Regions from separate parts of the Homo sapiens genome. Here all the other regions are linked to region 1. The links are contacts of gene promoters, found by promoter capture Hi-C in blood cells and fetal thymus (Javierre and others, 2016). All regions are on one chromosome and are shown on one strand. Each heading gives the region's core, a stretch centred on a gene start or on the middle of the fragment in contact. The rest is flanking DNA. Distances are from core to core; before and after follow the strand shown. Region 1 holds the start of MARCHF3 (membrane associated ring-CH-type finger 3). Region 2 overlaps MARCHF3 (membrane associated ring-CH-type finger 3). Region 3 overlaps MARCHF3 (membrane associated ring-CH-type finger 3).

What was found. Contacts are between HindIII fragments. The CHiCAGO score rates a contact against its expected background, and 5 or more counts as called.
Region 2: a contact is called between a fragment that was not itself captured here and the fragment with the promoter of MARCHF3 in region 1, in 10 of 17 cell types (total B cells, naive B cells, erythroblasts and 7 more). The highest score is 17.3, in total B cells.
Region 3: a fragment that was not itself captured here is called in contact with the fragment with the promoter of MARCHF3 in region 1 in 6 of 17 cell types (total B cells, naive B cells, erythroblasts and 3 more); the score reaches 12.3 in total B cells.

The regions. Positions count from the first base shown.
Region 1 is chr5:127,029,196-127,031,987 of GRCh38, reverse strand. It overlaps MARCHF3 (membrane associated ring-CH-type finger 3), which reads left to right and starts at 1,430. Exons shown (of 5, transcript NM_178450.5): 1 at 1,430-1,638. LOC105379163 (a long non-coding RNA gene) reads right to left here and starts at 645. Exons shown (of 2, transcript XR_007058920.1): 1 at 1-645. RefSeq lists an enhancer at 548-1,092 and a silencer at 1,089-1,468. The HindIII fragment of the contact is 7,560 bases long and covers 1-2,792 here.
Region 2 is chr5:126,937,045-126,939,836 of GRCh38, reverse strand. All of the region lies in intron 1 of MARCHF3 (membrane associated ring-CH-type finger 3), which reads left to right. Among named protein-coding and RNA genes, the nearest start is that of MARCHF3, 92 kb to the left of the region's middle. The HindIII fragment of the contact is 1,150 bases long and covers 874-2,023 here.
Region 3 is chr5:126,955,699-126,958,490 of GRCh38, reverse strand. The region is part of intron 1 of MARCHF3 (membrane associated ring-CH-type finger 3); the gene reads left to right. Among named protein-coding and RNA genes, the nearest start is that of MARCHF3, 73 kb to the left of the region's middle. The HindIII fragment of the contact is 635 bases long and covers 1,129-1,763 here.

The sequences.
Region 1 (2,792 bases), core at 181-2,680:
CTAAAACCCTTAGGACTTCTGGGACCTGAATGAGGCAATGGTCTGAAGTGGGCTTGCGCTGGAAGCAAGACGTAAGTGGTGAAGGTGAGTATCAGGGCAGCAGGTTGACCCCTTTCTTGTTATGAGCATGCATTCCTTCATTCTTACTAATACGGGTTAGGTGCCTACCCATGGCAAGAGCAGTTCTAGGCAGGGAGAGGCCCCTACCCACCCACAGCTGACGGTCTAGGGCTTGTTTACATTCTAGGTTTCAGCGGGAAAGCAAGAACACCCAACTCCCTGCTTTTGATTCTATGTTAGTAGCTCAGCGCGCCTGTGCGAGCACGTGCTGCAGCCAGGGTAGGGGCTCAGAAACTGGTTGACAAGATGAGCAGTGGGGTCCTAGGGGGTTGGGCGGGAAGGGCCCACAAGGCCATATTCCAGGCTGTTCGGCTGCGAGTGACCCCTGAGAGGTCGGGATCTCCGAGCTCGTCCGATGTCTCCATCCCAGCCAGGAGCTTGCGAAGGGGAAGGAGGGCGGAAGCAGAGTGGGACAGATGTGGTTCGTTCTGGGGCTTCCTGTCCACGAAGATGGATAATTCTAGCGACCCGCCTGGGATTTTGGAATCCTGGCGGACCCAAAAGACAGCAGAAGTCACCGCAGAGGATGCCACCCCGCACGGCAGCCCGCCCAGAGCGACGGTCTCACAGGTTCCGGCGCCGTCGAGCGCCCAAGCCTCCTGTTGGCCGCCAGCTGTGTCCGCGACGCGCTGGGTCGGGAGGAGGAGACCCGAGGCGCCGGTAAGTCCCCCGCTGCAGGTGGCCCGGAGGGCAGGGGTGAGGACGGGGACGTGTACTGAACTTTGGGAGGTTTGCGGGGCTGGAGTTTTGTTTCAGAGATAGCCAGATCGAGATCAGAACGTTTTCCAGAGAGCCCAGGTTTCCACTTGTGGCTGGGCGACCCGGTCCGGAATTCATCCTTTCTCGGCCCTCAGCTTCCTCCGGGCGGGGTTCCGATGGGGCAGCTAAGTTCCGCGCCTCCTGCCGGTGCCAGATACTGGCGTGTCGACCCGCGCTGCGGTTGGCTTCTTGCTCCACAGCGCTATGCGCGCGGCGGCTCCGAGGGCTCCTGGTCTCTCTCAGCCAACGGCCTTCTGGGGCCGCCGCCTCCCTCTAGAGCTGCTCGGGTCCCATTGCAGAGAGTCCCGCAGCGCCCGCCGGCAGCCACGGCACTTCGCAATAACCAACTTCCCCGCCGCCGGCGCGTCCCGCCAGCCTGCCCTCGGCCGCAGGCGACTGGACGGCGGTTACGGGGCGGTCCCAGCGCCACCACGACTGGCTGTCGGCTCCGCCAGTCATGGGCTGATGACGCCCCGGGGCTGGCTCCGCCCCTAGCGGCAGCCCCGCCTCCCCTCCAGAGCCTGGTCGGCTTAGCCCTGCTTTCCGCCTCACTCGTTGAGCAGGTCCGTGAATTGTCAGCGCGCTGTGGGCGACTGTGTGGCCGCGGCGGCCGCCAGGCTTGCCGCACTCCCCCTGAGGTGCCCGCCGGAACCAATGTGCCCTGGTCCACTGGGCCGTGAGCAGCCACCGACTGGGGGCAACTTGGCACTTAGAACCGCAGCAGGGACGTCGGTTTGCTATCGGGACTCGGCGAGGACGGTGAGTGGCCGCGCGCCGGGCTAGCGGCTCCTCTCGGCGCGGTTCGGCGGCGGCGAGAGGGGACGGGACGCGTCCTGGCGCTCGGCGGTCCGTTCGTCCGAGCGTGACCGCTGTGGGGAGGTCAGGGCTGGGCGGGATTTACTCCGTGCCAATATCCCCACTCCCGAACTTCTTCTTGTCAAAGCATCCCAACTCCGCCCGGGACGCGGTTCCAGTCCGCACCAACTTGGCGTAATTGACATGGGTAGGTGGGGCCGGGACGCGTCCCCTGCCCCTCTGCGGCAACGACATGGAGCGCTGGGGCGGCCTCCGCGCCCGCGGCGTGCGGACCGCGGTTCCTGAAAAATTACCCGCGCTGTGCGGTACGGTAAGACCCGGCGTCCGCGTCTGGATCTCAAGGCTGAGCGAGCGCTCATCGGGCTCAAGGTGGGTCTCAGCGCCAGAGAACTGGAGTACCAGCCGGGTTCTGTAGCGGGGGCTTCAGTGCTCTGCAGCTACTGAGAGGAATTGAGAGCACTGCTGGGCTTTGAACTTTCTAAAGTAATTGCTTTCTATTAGCACTTGAATCCATGACCCTCCTGAGGTGCTCGGACCTCCACATCCACCCGCAAGGGGTGTCCGAAGGACTTCGTTAGGACCAGGCGGGAGCTGCTGTCGGTTCTGGTGCCCAGTGCCTTGGAGAATCCTAGAGGCTGCGAAAGGGATTGCCAGCCTGGTCGGTTGGTGTTTGTTTGAGCACCTGCGTGTTTAAGTGATGAAGTTGAGTCAGGAATTGACAGCAGAGAACTCAAGGTTAAACCTGACACTCCGTTTGTGACTCGGTCTGGGTTAGATTGTTTTCCCCCCTTAATGGTAAGGGGGTAAAAGCAGCTTGTTTTTCTGAGACCAACTACATGCATGTAGTTTATATTATGTGCGGAATAAACAGAATTCAATACGATATTTTCTTACAATTCTTATTTGACATGAATAAGAGCTTTTGAAAATACTAGACAGAAACAGGTCCAGAATTTGGGGATGTTTAGACCTTTGAAAATACATGAAAATGTTGAGATATATAGTTCTGTATGTGTATATGAAGATGTAGATGCGCATATACACACATACATACGTGTATATGTGTGAGTGTGTGTATATATAAAATTAAAAGGTGA
Region 2 (2,792 bases), core at 199-2,698, 92 kb after region 1:
TTCAAGCAGAGACCCGCATAAACAAGGTTATGTATTGATTGGTAGATGAAAATGTGGCCAGTGGTCCACAGGAACCTAATCCTGCATTTTCTCTAAGAGCAATGGTTCAGTATTCACTAATTCAGTAATCAGCAATGTATAGAACATAACTACTGTAAATAACAAGAACTGACTCTGTTTAAATTTCCTTTCTATTCAAGTCTTAGATTCAGGGTTTAAGTACTTTTATTCCTGATGAATCTCTGGTGTTAAGATTACAACTAAACATTTACAAAGTTCTGGTAATAATTTCTTCCAGTCCTTCTCAGATACTATGGTTCTGTGTTTTATGTACTAATACTGTGTTCCAAAAGGAATCATAGTGAAGGCTGATCACCCAGAACAGCCCACATAAGAAGGTGTAAGGGATAAGAAAGAAATGAAGAACAGGTAGTAGCCACGGTGTTAGTAAGTGTTCTCCCAGCCCAGCCGCTCCTGGACCTTTTGTCAACCCTCGCCAAACAACTTATAACACTTTAGGGAACCTTTCCTTTCAAATGAAAGGGCATGAAGAGGGGGATTATGTAGGTGAGATGTTGAGCCTAACCTTTTCATATCTAGGGAAGGCATACTCAAGGGGGTGGGGTTGTCAATGAATAAATAATACTAGCATTTAAGTTGAGTTCACCTGTTATAATCAACCCTAGCATAAGATTATGTTTGTTGCAGAATCAATGCTAACAGGAATCTGTACATGTGCTGTTATTATACAATATCCAAGAAGGGAGAAACCTCTGGCAATCTTTCTAAGATTTTCTAAGGAAAAGAGCCATTTGCAACTTTAGTGACCAATGTATCCACAGAATTCATTTTCATTTAGTGACGGGACAAGCTTAGACCTCTTCCTCCACTCCCCAAATACCTGATTTTAATAGCAAAAGGAAATCACTATATGGTTTTTCTTGTTATGTATATAAGAAATAAGGAAAATTATTTATTTTGGCTTCTGTGAAACTGAGGAAACATTACATTTTCTTCATTGTAATGCACATGTGAAGTGATTTTCCTCAAACCAGATTCTAATTTTCTGTAATTCAGCAGCACAGCTCCCAGAAGTTTCCTGCCTACAAATGCTATGGGGGAAAAATTAAATCATTGCACAAGTTAGGAAGTGAATGAGTTGTGATGCCTAGAAAAATGCATGATGACTCACAAATATGAAGAGAAATTGTATCCACAGTGTGAGACTTGGGAAATACTAAGGATTTGGCTCTAAGGGTTTTTTTGTAAAATTTTTTTTTTTTTTGCTTTTTTTGCTTTTTTTGCCCTACATGTTAACTCCTAGCTTTTAAAAACAACAACAACAAAGTTCTCTAGAATCAGATCAACAGGCCAGGCACAGTGGCTCACACTTGTAATCCCAGCACTCTGGGAGGCCGAGGTGGGCAGATCACATGAGGCCAGGAATTTGAGACCAGCTTGGCCAACATGGTGAAACTCTGTCTCTACTGAAATTACAAAAATTAGCCAGGTGTGGTGGCACACATCTGTAATCCCAGCTACTCGGGAGGCTGAGGCATCAGAATCGCTTGAACCTGGGAGGCAGAGATTGCAATGAGCCAAGATTGAGCCTCTGTACCCCAGCCTGGGCGGCAGAGCAAGACTGTCTCAAAAAAAAAAAAAAAAAAAAAAGAATCAGATCAACAGAGCTGAGAATTATGTTCTATTCTCCCCTAAGTTAATAAAATGTGGATTGCAAAAATCCGAGGTGCTCATCAATGTCAGTGATAGCTGCTGCAACTATGTATTGTAAAATTTAGTCATGAAATTCTGCAGCTACTACACATGGTCTTGCCCAAGCATTAAATACCAGGATTCTCCTTGTTTCAAAATTTGAGTCTTATCAAAAGAGCAGATACTTTCCTTTATGCCTTCACTCCTACTCAGTGTTATTAGGAAACTCAGGAGTTTTTTTGTGGAATATGCTTGTCATAACTGCAGAAATCACCTTCTTTGTTAACTCTAATCTTGGGGGAAGAAAGCTTTTCGATTCTGTAAAAGAATTAAAAAGAATTTCCCTACTCTTTCTTCTCACCCCACTCTCACCCCAAAAACAACAACCAAGGTCACCTTGCATAGTATATCCATTTAGTCAGTATTAAATAATAATAGTGGTAGCAATTCATAGAAATTTGGGTCAGAAATCGAGTTAATCAGGTTCTTCCACTAACTTATGGTGCTAAGAAAATCATAAAATCCCTTTGTTTTAGTTTCCTCATTTATAAAACAGGTGACTACACCCACCAATTCTCATAAGGCCCCATGGTCTAAATATACAATTGCTGTCTGGACAATTTGGATATATAAATTCCAAAGAGGAATGATAAATGATGCTTTATAAAATTTGGCAGATTATTGCTGCTGGCTCCTGTTTATAATTTGTCTTCTCTAGCAAGAATATGACTTCTGTAAAGTATATGGATTTTTAATTTAAATTGGCATCTTTCTTGTTAAAAAGAAAAAAAAAGGTAACCAGATGTTAATTTAGACACATTGTAGATGTATGAGGAAAAAAGAGTATATCCTGTCTGGGTCATTGTCTGTCTACTGTTGACATCTGTGACTGCCCCCAAGTGGGGCAAAGGACCACTGAAGGGTTCAGGCATGAACTTGGTGGTGGTGACCACTGATGACCGTTTGTTACATTGCTGCAGTGCTCTGTAGCTGGGGACATTTGTGAATTTGTCACTTCATTTTATTCTGACAAAGCCTGGTATAGCTCACAGAAGCTGATTTAGTTTTTATATATTACT
Region 3 (2,792 bases), core at 197-2,696, 74 kb after region 1:
CAGAATACAAAAGCAGTGGGCTTTTAGAAGTTTAAGAAAATTGAACTCTGTAAAGAAAAAGCTTTAATTCAAGAAAAAGTAAGCAAGCTAGACCATTTATTAAACTAATATACATCTTAATATAATCACTTGTCTTGGCCAGAGAAACAATATAGAGGACGGTTAATGGTAAACTGGAAGCACCTTATTAAAATCAAGTAACCTTATTAAAATGTAAAACAAGACAAAGATATTCCCTGTCATCATGATCATTCAGTATTATTCTGGAAGCTACTGCCCATCTAAGAAACAGAAAGCAGAGAAAAGGAGGAGAAAGATAGCCATGATTTGTATGTTATATTTCTGTTTACCTAGAAACTTAAAAGAATCAACACAAAGTAATAAATAAAAATTTGATAATAAAAATCTGTATACAAAATAAAACTAAAATCAATAGCTTTCCCGTGTATGGGCAATAAGTAGTTATAACATGTAATGGGAAATGTCCCATTTACAAGAGTATAAAATATTCAGTAATAAATCTATATTTGGAAAACTAAAATACTGAGCAAAATAAAAGAAAATTTGAATAAATACTATGTTCCTAGATGAGAAAACTAAATATTTGCAAGACACAATTCTTTCTATATTATTGTTCAGCTTAAATACATTTTTAACAAGGTAACAATTTTAGATGATGATTTTAAAAATATCAGGAAGGATAAACAACAGAAATGATGAGTAAAATCTGAGCACAGTAATGTTGGGAATCTTCCTCTACCAGTTATTAAAAATGAATTATAAGTCTATAATAATTTTTAAATGTGATGTTTTACAAAAATAGATTAATGAAGCAGAATCTAGGAACAGATTCAAGTATGTATAAGAATTTACTACAGATAAAGATGACATATAAATAAAGAAGTTATCAAAAATAAGATTGATCCAATTGAGAAACCATTGGGAGAAAATGAAAGTTACTTTTTAACATCATGCAATACACCAAAATAAATTACAAATGGATTGAAGGTTTTATGAAATCATAAAGCTATAGAAAAATCTAGGATGAGTATTTATCTGCACTTGGAAGTACAGGAATGATGGAAGAGACTGCAGAAAAAATGATTGATAGGTTTAACTTCTAAAGCTTATGTGTCAAATAGCCTGTAAACAAAATTAGAAGACAAATAACTGAATGTTTTTAAAGTTAAACATATGTGACAAAAGGTTACTATCTTTAATATATACATGGAATTCTTAAGCACCACTAATAAAAAGGCAAAAAATATAACTCAATAGGAAAGTAAGGAAAAGACATGAATAGACAAATAAAAAAGACTAAATACTATGGCCAAGAAACGTGATAAAGTTTTAAAGGAATATTTATTACTTAATGTATATTTACTAAAATGTTTATGTCAAAAAAAACTCTAATAAAAGAATACCATTCTTAGCCGGGCACAGTGGCACCATGGCATGTGCCCATAGTCCCAGCTACTCAGGAGGCTGAGGTGGGAGGATCACCTGAAGCCAGCAGGTCCAGGCCAACCTGGGCAACATAGTGAGACCCCATATTTTAAAAAGAAAGAAACACCGTTCTTAACCTGCCAATTCAAAGAGATGTTTTAAATGATAAAACCTAGTCATGACAAAGATTTGGTGAAATGGGCAGTTTCGTTCAACTACTGATGAAAGTAAAATGTTCACAGAAAATGGAAACTTTTAGTGAGGAAGGCATTAGTGGAAAGTGGATTGGGATGCAGGTTAAGATCTGAGTTCAAGCTTTCTGGGTTTTTTTTTGTTATTGTTTGTTTTTTTGTTTTTGTTGTTGTTTTTTTGGTTTTTTTTTTTTTTTTTTTTTTTTTTGGAGACAGAGCCTCACTCTGTTGCCCAGGCTGGAGTACAGTGGCGCAATCTTGGCTCACTGCAACTTCCACCTCCCAGGTTCAAGTGATTCCCCTGCCTCAGCCTCCCAAGTAGCTGGGATTACAGGTGCCCGCCACCACACCTGGCTAATTTTGTTTTTTTGTATTTTTAGTAGAGACAGAGTTTCACTGTATTTTCAGGCTGGTCTCGAACTCCTGGGCTCAAGCTATTTGCATTCCTTGGCCTCCCAAAGTGCTGAGATTACAGGCGTGAGCCACCATGCCTGGACCTAGTTCAAGCTTTCTAATTGTCTTGCTGTGTAAACCTGAATGGGAAATATAAGATCTCTGCATCTTTGTTTCTTCATTTATAAACAAAGAGGCTTGGTTTAAAAATATCTTCAGGGTAACTGAAGACAAAAGAAATCGTTAGGTTGCGGTACAGATGGACAATTTGAGGACTAGAAGAAAACTGTTTAAAAACAGGTTCTGACAAAAATCTGAGACCTATTCATTTTAACAGTGTAGAAACTCCGAAAACAATCTCCAAAATGTATGTGGGAATTTGGCATAGAGTAGACAAGGCATTAAAAATAAGTGGGAAAAGAAAGGATTATTTAATAAGTGATTTAGTTCTCTTCATGAAAAAGAAAGGTAGATTAATGTCTCATCCCATACAAATGGATAATTTTAAATGTATTAAGGGCCTGAGTGAAAAATAAAACTTTAAAATTATTAGAAAGAAATGCAGGCAAATATCTTTATGACTGTGGGGAAGAGATTATTTCTCAGTCGGTACACAAAAAAGGACAATTCATAAAGGAAAGATTACACTAAGAAGTAAAACTATTTTATGCAAAAGCCTCTATGAGTAAAGCTAAAAGACAAACTCTGAACTGGAAAAATATTTTTTCAACACATAAAGCAGAAAAAAACGTTTCAGACTAT